Linked DNA regions of Homo sapiens: all the other regions are linked to region 3. Evidence: promoter capture Hi-C in human tissues and cell types (Jung and others, 2019). All regions are on one chromosome and are shown on one strand. Each heading gives the region's core, a stretch centred on a gene start or on the middle of the fragment in contact. The rest is flanking DNA. Distances are from core to core; before and after follow the strand shown. Region 1 has its middle 81 kb from the start of NCR2. Region 2 overlaps C6orf132 (chromosome 6 open reading frame 132). Region 3 holds the start of PRICKLE4 (prickle planar cell polarity protein 4).

Region 1 (2,700 bases), core at 122-2,621, 360 kb after region 3:
AGAGAGCCGCTTTGCACAGGAGGAGATGTTTCTAGAGGGTGGCAGGGGTGATGGTGGTGAGGATGGTAGGGGTAGCAGGAGCGAAGGTAGAGAGGAGAGTGAGGGGCAGACTGCGGGAGACTTTGAGTCCAGCTTTAGCAATCTGGACTTGATCCTTCCAGGCAAAGGGAAGCTATTGATGGTTTCTGACAAGGGAAGGATGCCATCTGGGCTATGTCTTAGAAAGAGACTCCTGGTAGTGGTGTGCAAGTGGGTTAAAGAGAGGGAGACAGTTTAGGAGGCTGTTGTCACAATTCAGCCATGAAATGGGGATGTCCTGAACCAGAATGGAGGCAGAGGGAAAGTACAGGGACTGGCAGCCTGGAGAGGGAATTACCGCAAGCTCTAGGGGAGCCCTTGCCTCCTGCCCATCTGACCCACCATGGCTGGCTGCTGGCTTCTGCCCTGGCTTCCTCCCTTCTGGGCCAGCCTTGAAGTCTGTATTCAGGGAGGGGCAAGGCACCAGGGAAGCACAGGGCCAGCTCCACAGCCAGAGCCTGGACTGGATCCTGCCTGGTCTTACCTGGACCAAAAGGAGCAATTCTGGAAGCTTGGCTGTGGCCCAAGCCGGGCTATGGGCCTGGAGTGGCAGATTGTGAGCAGGGACCCAGCACTGACTCTGTGTGTGTGTGTGTGTGTGTGTGTGTGTGTGTGTGTGAGTGAGAGAGAGAGAGAGAGAGAAAGAGAGAGAGAGGCTGAGAGGCTGAGAGTGTGTGACAAAGAGGAAAGACGGAGGACCATATGCCTATTTTCTTTGAGGAACAGCTGTCTCCTCAAGTGGGTGAGAGAGTCAGTAAGAGAGGGGAAGTGGGGTTAGAGGGTCAGCTCCACATTCACAAATACATTGTCACAGGGCCCTTGTATGTGAGTCAACTTTTCTAATTTTCCAGATATGTTCCTTTTTTTCCCTCCCTTTCTAAATCTTTCCTTTTCCACTTCTTTTTCCTTTCTCTCTCCCCTGAGCTCACACACTCACACACAGCCTCAGGGCTGGGTATTCCTCTGTCTGAGGGTCCTGGAGAGGGGTGGGATGGCCACAGAGCAGGTAACTTTCTCTGTTCCACCCCTGCTGGGACTTGCCCTGGGACCACACCCTCCCCTCCTTCCCTCTTCCAACAAATACTGAATGCTCTAGGTGCTGGTCCAGGCCCAGGGACAAGCTTATTCTAGAGTCCCCCTTACCCAGTGCCTTTGCTTTGGAAGAGTGGGACAGGAAGGGACATCTTTGGCTTAATGTTCAGGGATAAAGTACCAGAAGAACGAGCTCCCTCGGTGCTCTTTTCTGGTTTGCCCCTTCTCTTCCTGTTGTCTGCTCTTCCGTCCCACTTTTTTTTAGGTGAGAAGAGCAGAGAAACTGGAGTCAGAGAAGCCGGGGTTCAAATCCCAGTTCTGCCTCTTTCAAGCTGTGGGATCTGCAGCAAGATGCTCCACCTCTCTGACAAAGACTGGAATAACCTTCATTTCTGGAGGTTGGGAGAATTAAACGGGAAAATCAGTCTAAATGCCTGGCAAAAGCACCTCTGTCTGTTTTTCTTCTTGTTTCTTTTTCCTTATCCCATTTCCTTTATTCATTAAGGAACTGCTTACTTAATGAAGGAGGCTTCGTTGTGCTGGAGCCGGAGGAGAGGAGCAGGGGTCCTGGTTGAGGCACCGCAGGAAACAAGACTCCAGCCTGAGCCTCACAGCCTCACAGCCTCCTCCCTTGGGCCCCTGCCTTCATCATGTCCTGTCTTTATCCTTCAGGAAGTGGGGAGCCAATGAAGGTTTCTGAGCAGGGGAGTGACTGAATCTCAGACCTGTGCTTTAGCACCTATGATCTGGTCGGGTGGGGTACTGGGGGGACTGGGACATGGTGTGTGTGTCTGGTGGGTGGAGGGAACGGGGCCGCAGGAGCCTGTCATGCCCTCCTTTCCTCCACCTTCCTGTGTCCTTCACCGTGACTCTCTTCTTTCCCCCTCTGTCTCTCCTCCGCTCCCTCCATTCCTCTCTCCCCTTCAGCTCCCCCTGCGGCTTGCCAGCTGCCAGCAGATGACATCTCCTTTCATGTTTGGGGCTGAGCACAGCTTTGAATGTTCGTTTGATTCCGTTAAGATAATAGCTGGTTCACTGTCAGATGCAGACTGATCAGTTAAAACCTTAATCACTGCCTGTCTCCTCACTCGGCACTTATTTTTTAAGAGATTAATCCCCTCAGCCCTGCTCCAGCTCACATTCAGCTTGGAAAAAAAAAAAAAGGCAAGGTTTGTGTTATTCTTGTTATTATTATTGTTATGATTGTCACTCTCATTATTCTGCGTATTAACTCTGTCCCTCTCTGCCCTTTCAACTATTCTTTCTTTTTTCTCCCCCGTGGTTTCCCAGTCTTCCCCTCATCTCACTTGTATATTCTCTCTCTCTCTCTCTCTCTCTCACACACACACACACACACACACACACACTCTGATGTGGCTTTCCAGATCCAGTGTGAGATATGTCCAGATATTGATATAGTGTGAGTATATACAATTCCCCTGCACACACCTTCCCTACCTCCACGTGCACACCCGGGTGTTCAGCACAGGGACAGGACACAGGACACAGGTCCAGGCACCCAGGCACATGTGGTCCAGGGAAGCCAGGAGATACAGCTCTGTACCATGGGCAGAGTCTAATATTTGGGAT
Region 2 (2,700 bases), core at 51-2,550, 330 kb before region 3:
AAAATACAAAAAATTAGCTGGGCATGGTGGTGCACGCCCCTGTAATCCCAGCTACTCGGGAGGCTGAGGCAGGAGAATTGCTTGAACCCAGGAGGCAGAGGTTGTGGTGAGCAGAGATCATGCCATTACACTCCAGCCTGGGTGACAGAGCAAGACTCCATCTCAAAAAAAAAAAAAAAAAAAATTAGCCAGGAATGGTGGCACACATCTGTAGTCCCAGCTACAGATGGGAAGATTGCTTGAGCCACGAGATGGAGGCTGCAGTGAGCCATGATTGCACCACTGCACTCCAGCTTAGGTGACAGAATAAAACCCTGTCTCAATTAAAACAAAAAAAAATTCAAGTTCATCACTTTTTATTTTTCTGTAAACACCTAATGAAAACTAAGAACACACAGGAGGCCAGGCTGAGGAGTTTGGCTTTTCACCTGTGGACCTCCATGGAGAGTCAATGCAGATTCTATTTGTTTGTTTTGTCTTTTTCATCGAGATGGAATTCATATACAGTCAATCCTCCCTATTTGTGGATTCTGTATTTGCAAATTTGCTTAGTGGCTAAAACGTATTTGTAACCCCAGAATCAATGCTTGTGTTGCTTCTGTGGTCATTTGCAGACATGCACAGAGCAGTGAAAATTTTGAGTTGCTCAATGCACATGTTCCCAGCTGAACAAGAGGATTCTATGCCTTCTTGTTTTAGCTGTCATACAAAAACAAGTGTCTTTTTCTGTTTAGTGTCATGTGTTATAGTGCTATCGGCCATGAGTTCAATGTTAACCAACCAACAAAATATATTAAAATGTCTTTAAGCAGAAACACAGCTAAAACAAGGTTATGGTTATGTATTGATCAGTTGACAAAAATCTTGTGACCAGAGGCTCATAGGAACCTAACCCTGTATTTCCCCTAGGAGCAACGGGTCAGTATTTACTAATACTATGTTCATTGCAACTTTATAGAACATAACTATGACAAATAGTGATGATTGGTTGACTGTACCACAAGATTCACTTTTTAAAATCAGCCTTTTATATTTTGGTATATGCACAAGGTTATGCAACCATGACCGTCACTGCAGATTTTCAAGCAGTAAAATGGCCTCAAAGAGCAGCAGTTTGAGAATTATCTGTCCATCTTTCCCTGTCCCCTGATTTCTTTCTGGTCTCTTTCAGAATGCCCAGGAAAACCATGGGCTGGCTGTGCCCACCCCCTCGGTTCCAGATGATTTTGCAGACAAAGAAGTGACAGGTAAGTGAACCCTGGGCTTGGGGCTTGTCCATCTTTCTTTCCTCCTAGGGCCCTGAGTTCAAAAGCTAAGCATCTGCTCATCTTCACAGCTGGTGACAAAGCCAGAGTCCTCAGGCACAGCCACTCTCGCCATCCTCAGTCATCTTGATTACTGGCCGCAGTGGGCTAGGGCAGTGGGGCTGGGAGTTGAGGAGAGCCACGGTCAGTGAAGGCCCCTTTCTGGCGGGGGAAGGATGGCAAGGGGACAAAGCCAGAGCAGGAACAAGTGCAGCATAAAGTGGAAGAAGGGCCTGGCTTTGAATCCCAGCTCCCCACATATTCACTTTGCTCCCTTGGGCAAGACACTTCACCCCTCCTACCTCTGTATCTTCCAACGAACGATGGGAACAACAGTTCAGTTTGGAGGAGTAAATGAAGTGGTGGATGGGATGTATGTCATGTCTGTCACACCTCTCAGAGGTGCTTCAAACTCACTAATGGCTTCCCGTGTCACTCAGAGAAAAGGTTCTTGCAAGGACTGCTGGAGTCTGACCGGAGTCTGGCCACTTTGCTTGCTTGCTTTCCCCTCCCACACTGCCCCGGCCACAGCATCTCCTGTTGCTCCTGAAATACCCCAGGCACATTTCCGCCTTGGGGTCTTTGCACTGCAGACCTCTCAGGTTAGAATGCTCTTCTGCGAGGCATCTGTGTGGCCGTCTCCCTCACTCCTCCCTTCTTTGCTCAAATGTCACCTTCTCTGCGAGGCCTTCTCAGACTGCTTTATTTATTTATTTATTTATTTATTTGAGATGGAGTCTCGCTCTGTTGCCAGGCTGGAGGGCAGTGGTGTGATCTCAGCTCACTGCAACCTCTGCCTCCCGGGTTCAAGCAGTTCTCCCACCTCAGCCTCTGAGTAGCTGGGACCATAGGTGCACACCACCATGCCCAGCTAATTTTTGTATTTTTAGTAGAGACAGTGTTTCACCATGTTGGCCAGGATGGTCTCTATCTCTTGACCTCGTGATCCACCTGCCTCAGCCTCCTAAAGTGCTCGGATTACAGGTGTGAGCCACCGCACCCGGCCGGACTGCCCTATTTAAATTGCACCTGCTGCACCCCTCCCCTGCTGGTGTTTTTTCCCATCGCACTCATCCTCTAATGTGATAATAATGTACTCACACATTATGTTCATTGTCCCGTTCAAGCGTAAGCTCCCTAGGAGGACCAGTGTTTGTCTGTTTTTTGTTTTGTTGGTTTTTTTGCTGCTGTACCCCAGCTCCTAAGTCCTGCCTGACAGTTGGGTGCTCAGTGAATGTTAGTTTTCCCCTTCCCCACTCTTGGTTTCTTCAGTTTGAAGTCAGGCAGCTGGGAGGAGCCCTTCAGAGCCGCACACTCCCCAGGTTCGCCACACTGTTAGGGACTGAGAGGAGGGGAGCAAAGGATGGGTGCCCCTAAGAAGGAAGTAGACTCTGGG
Region 3 (2,700 bases), core at 137-2,636:
CCTACCTGGAAGGCAGAGGTGGCAGTGAGCTGAGATCATGCCACTGCACTCCAGCCTGGGCAACAGAGTGAGACTCCGTCTCAAAAAAAAAAAAAAAAAAGCGACTATTAATGTAGAGAAGAGATGAGCCCCGCCCTCAAGGAGCTCATAGTGGGTAAGACAAAGATGAAACCAGGTAGAATGGGATCAATCAGAGCTCGGGACAGACATACAAAAACCCTGGAGAAAAAAATAACCAGAGCAAACTTTTTAATAATATTTACTCTGTGCCAAGGACTCTTCTAGAATATTACATAATATAGTCCATCCTCACAATAATCTTATGAGGTAATCTCTTTCATTCCACTTGACAGTTGAAACAAGTTAATTAACTTGCCCAAGATCATACCAGAGGCTAAGGGAAGCCTTAGGGGGACCTGGCTTCTGAGAGCTGGGATAGATTCTGAAAGTAGCTGGGCACAGGAGGGTCATCATCAAATCCCTGGCCTCTAAGACTGGGCCAGGGATTCGTACTGGGGTTGAGGTGAGGGTTTGGACTGTAACAGTTAATATTGCTTCCCAGCACTGAACCCTCCTCAGCACCGCCCCTCCACTCCCACTTCAAATGTCCTGTGCCACCCTTCCCTCCTTCCTGGCTTCACACCCACCTGCTTCCTTCCTCTTCTGTCCTTCAGGTCAGGTTTCCTGTGGAAGGTGGCCAGGATGGGCTGTTCACACCAGGAGTAGCCACTAACAGCACTGCCCCTGCTCCAGGCAGCAAGAAAGGAGGGGGCGTCTGGGGCCCCAGGAGGGGACTTGCACCCTCTTCCATTTTGGCTCTAGTTTGCATAGAATTGTCCAACACAGAAACAACACTCAGAAATCAGGCCTCTATTCCTCACCCTTCCAATCTCCCCAAAGGCAGCCAAACTCCACCTCCACCTAGCACTGGAACACCCTTACTAACAGGCCAGCTGGATTCCTTCCATAATTCCCTTCCCCCTCCCACCTCAGATAAGGGACAGAGCTGAACCCCTTGTCTTGCCTCCGTGCAGAGCCTCCGTGCAAGAGGGCTCAGGAGCTGGACATCCCCAACACCCGCTGCCCTGAAGGGCAGAGCCCGAGAGGACTTAGGGCTTGGGGAGGTGGAGGGATGGGAAGATTTCTGGGGACAGTGGGAGGGAGAAGGAAGGGGAGTGCCCAGTCCCGCCAACTGCCCTCTCGATAGATCCCCAGAGTTTTTCTGGAACTTGGCGGGCCCGCCTCCGGGGCTGGGACGCGGTGTTTCCCGAGTCCGCTGGGGTTCCCGGTCTGGCTGCTGGGATTTTAGGGGAGGGGACCAGGACTCCGCTGGGGTCTCACCCTCGCTGTGCGTCGCTGTCCGGGCAGTTCTGGACCGACTCTGCCGTCAGGCCCCTCACCCGGTCCCCACCCCAAGGCTTCAGCGCCCGCCCCCGTCCGCCCCCGCCCGCCCTAATAGCGCGGCCCTTCCTCTCCCACGCCCCAGCGGCCCCCGCCCGCCCCTCCCCGGCTGGTGGAGAGGGGCGGCTCAGGGAGGGGCCTGGAGCTGCAGATTGGGGGGAGGAAAAAAAAAAGGAAAACAAAACCACATTTATGGGATCTCAGGGTGGAAATGTGCGGGCTCCATGGCCTCTGCCATGCAGGTGCAAGGGCTCTCTGGCTCGGACTGCGCCCGGCAGGCATCCAGCAGACGCCGGGAGCCGCGTTTACGCTGGGTTTTCAACCATTCGCTGAATGGAAACGCCTCGCCGGGCCCGCAGCCCTGTCTCTCCGCAGTTCCCAGGTCTCCCCAAACTCTCCCTGTGGTCTCCCAGCCCCGCTCCTCCGCGTGTTTCCCTTCAGTTCTCTCCCCCTTGTCCCCAGTGGTCCCCCTGGCCCCTTCCCCTCCCCTCAACCCTCTTCCAGGTTCCATCGTCTTGCCCTTCTCCTTTCAGGTCCCTTCAGACCCTCTCCCCTTCCCTTCGTTTCTCGCCCAACCCTCCGTCCCCTTTCCGCTCCCCGGACCACCCCCAACTTTGGTGTCCTCAGCCCCGCCTCCGCGCCCCGCCTCCGCCGCAGGCTCCGCCCTGTCCCCTCCGGGCTTGCTCAGCCCCTGGCCAGGAGCGCCCTCTGGCGTCTGCGCATGCTCACTGCTCCCGACTGCAAAGTCCTCCAAAGGGACCTTCTAGGCTGCGTGCCGGTCGCCCCCGCTCGGGTCCGCCAGCCCGCAGCGTCTCGTTGGTGCTGCCGGTGACCTCCGACCCCGCGGCCGCGGGGCGGGGCGGGGCGGGGAGGCCTTAGCTCCGGGCGGGCGGCGGCTGCTGCAGCGGGACCCGGGAGCGGGGCCCGGCGCCGCCCGGGCCGCGGGGCGATGTGAGTCGGGGCGCGGCGGGGCGGGGACGAGGCGGCTTCACCGAGGCCGCGCCGCGCCGCGCCGCGCCGCGCCGCAGTCTCCACTCCCTCCCTAGGAAGCCCCGGGCGGGCGGGCAGGCGGCGGAGCACCGGGGCTGGGGGCGGGGATCCGGGGACAGCGCGCACCCAGACCTCCTCATTCCTTACGGGCATGTAGAAATTCCCCTTGACAGTCCTGTAGCCTGTCCTGCAGCCTCTGGCTCCCCCAACCCACCTCTACCCTCTCCGCCCTGGACACATCATCGCATCTCCTGGAGCCCTCAGAACCCCCTCATTCACTCAACAAATCTCCTGCTATGCCCACGGACC

The links. The method cuts DNA at HindIII sites, captures the fragments that hold promoters and counts their contacts. A contact is called where the count stands out against the background at its distance.
Region 1: a contact is called between a fragment that was not itself captured here and the fragment with the promoter of PRICKLE4 in region 3, in 1 of the 25 tissues and cell types used here (mesenchymal stem cells).
Region 2: a fragment that was not itself captured here is called in contact with the fragment with the promoter of PRICKLE4 in region 3 in 1 of the 25 tissues and cell types used here (lymphoblastoid cells).

The regions. Positions count from the first base shown.
Region 1 is chr6:41,415,735-41,418,434 of GRCh38, reverse strand. No RefSeq gene overlaps it. Among named protein-coding and RNA genes, the nearest start is that of NCR2, 81 kb to the right of the region's middle. The HindIII fragment of the contact is 3,118 bases long and covers 1-2,700 here.
Region 2 is chr6:42,108,763-42,111,462 of GRCh38, reverse strand. C6orf132 (chromosome 6 open reading frame 132) reads left to right here. Exons shown (of 5, transcript NM_001164446.3): 3 at 1,172-1,247. Among named protein-coding and RNA genes, the nearest start is that of C6orf132, 33 kb to the left of the region's middle. The HindIII fragment of the contact is 5,795 bases long and covers 1-2,700 here.
Region 3 is chr6:41,779,468-41,782,167 of GRCh38, reverse strand. It overlaps PRICKLE4 (prickle planar cell polarity protein 4), which reads right to left and starts at 1,386. Exons shown (of 8, transcript NM_013397.6): 1 at 1,342-1,386; 2 at 648-818. It overlaps FRS3 (fibroblast growth factor receptor substrate 3), which reads left to right and starts at 2,268. Exons shown (of 7, transcript NM_006653.5): 1 at 2,268-2,352. RefSeq lists silencers at 1,603-1,672, 1,953-2,362, 2,393-2,542. The HindIII fragment of the contact is 3,550 bases long and covers 250-2,700 here.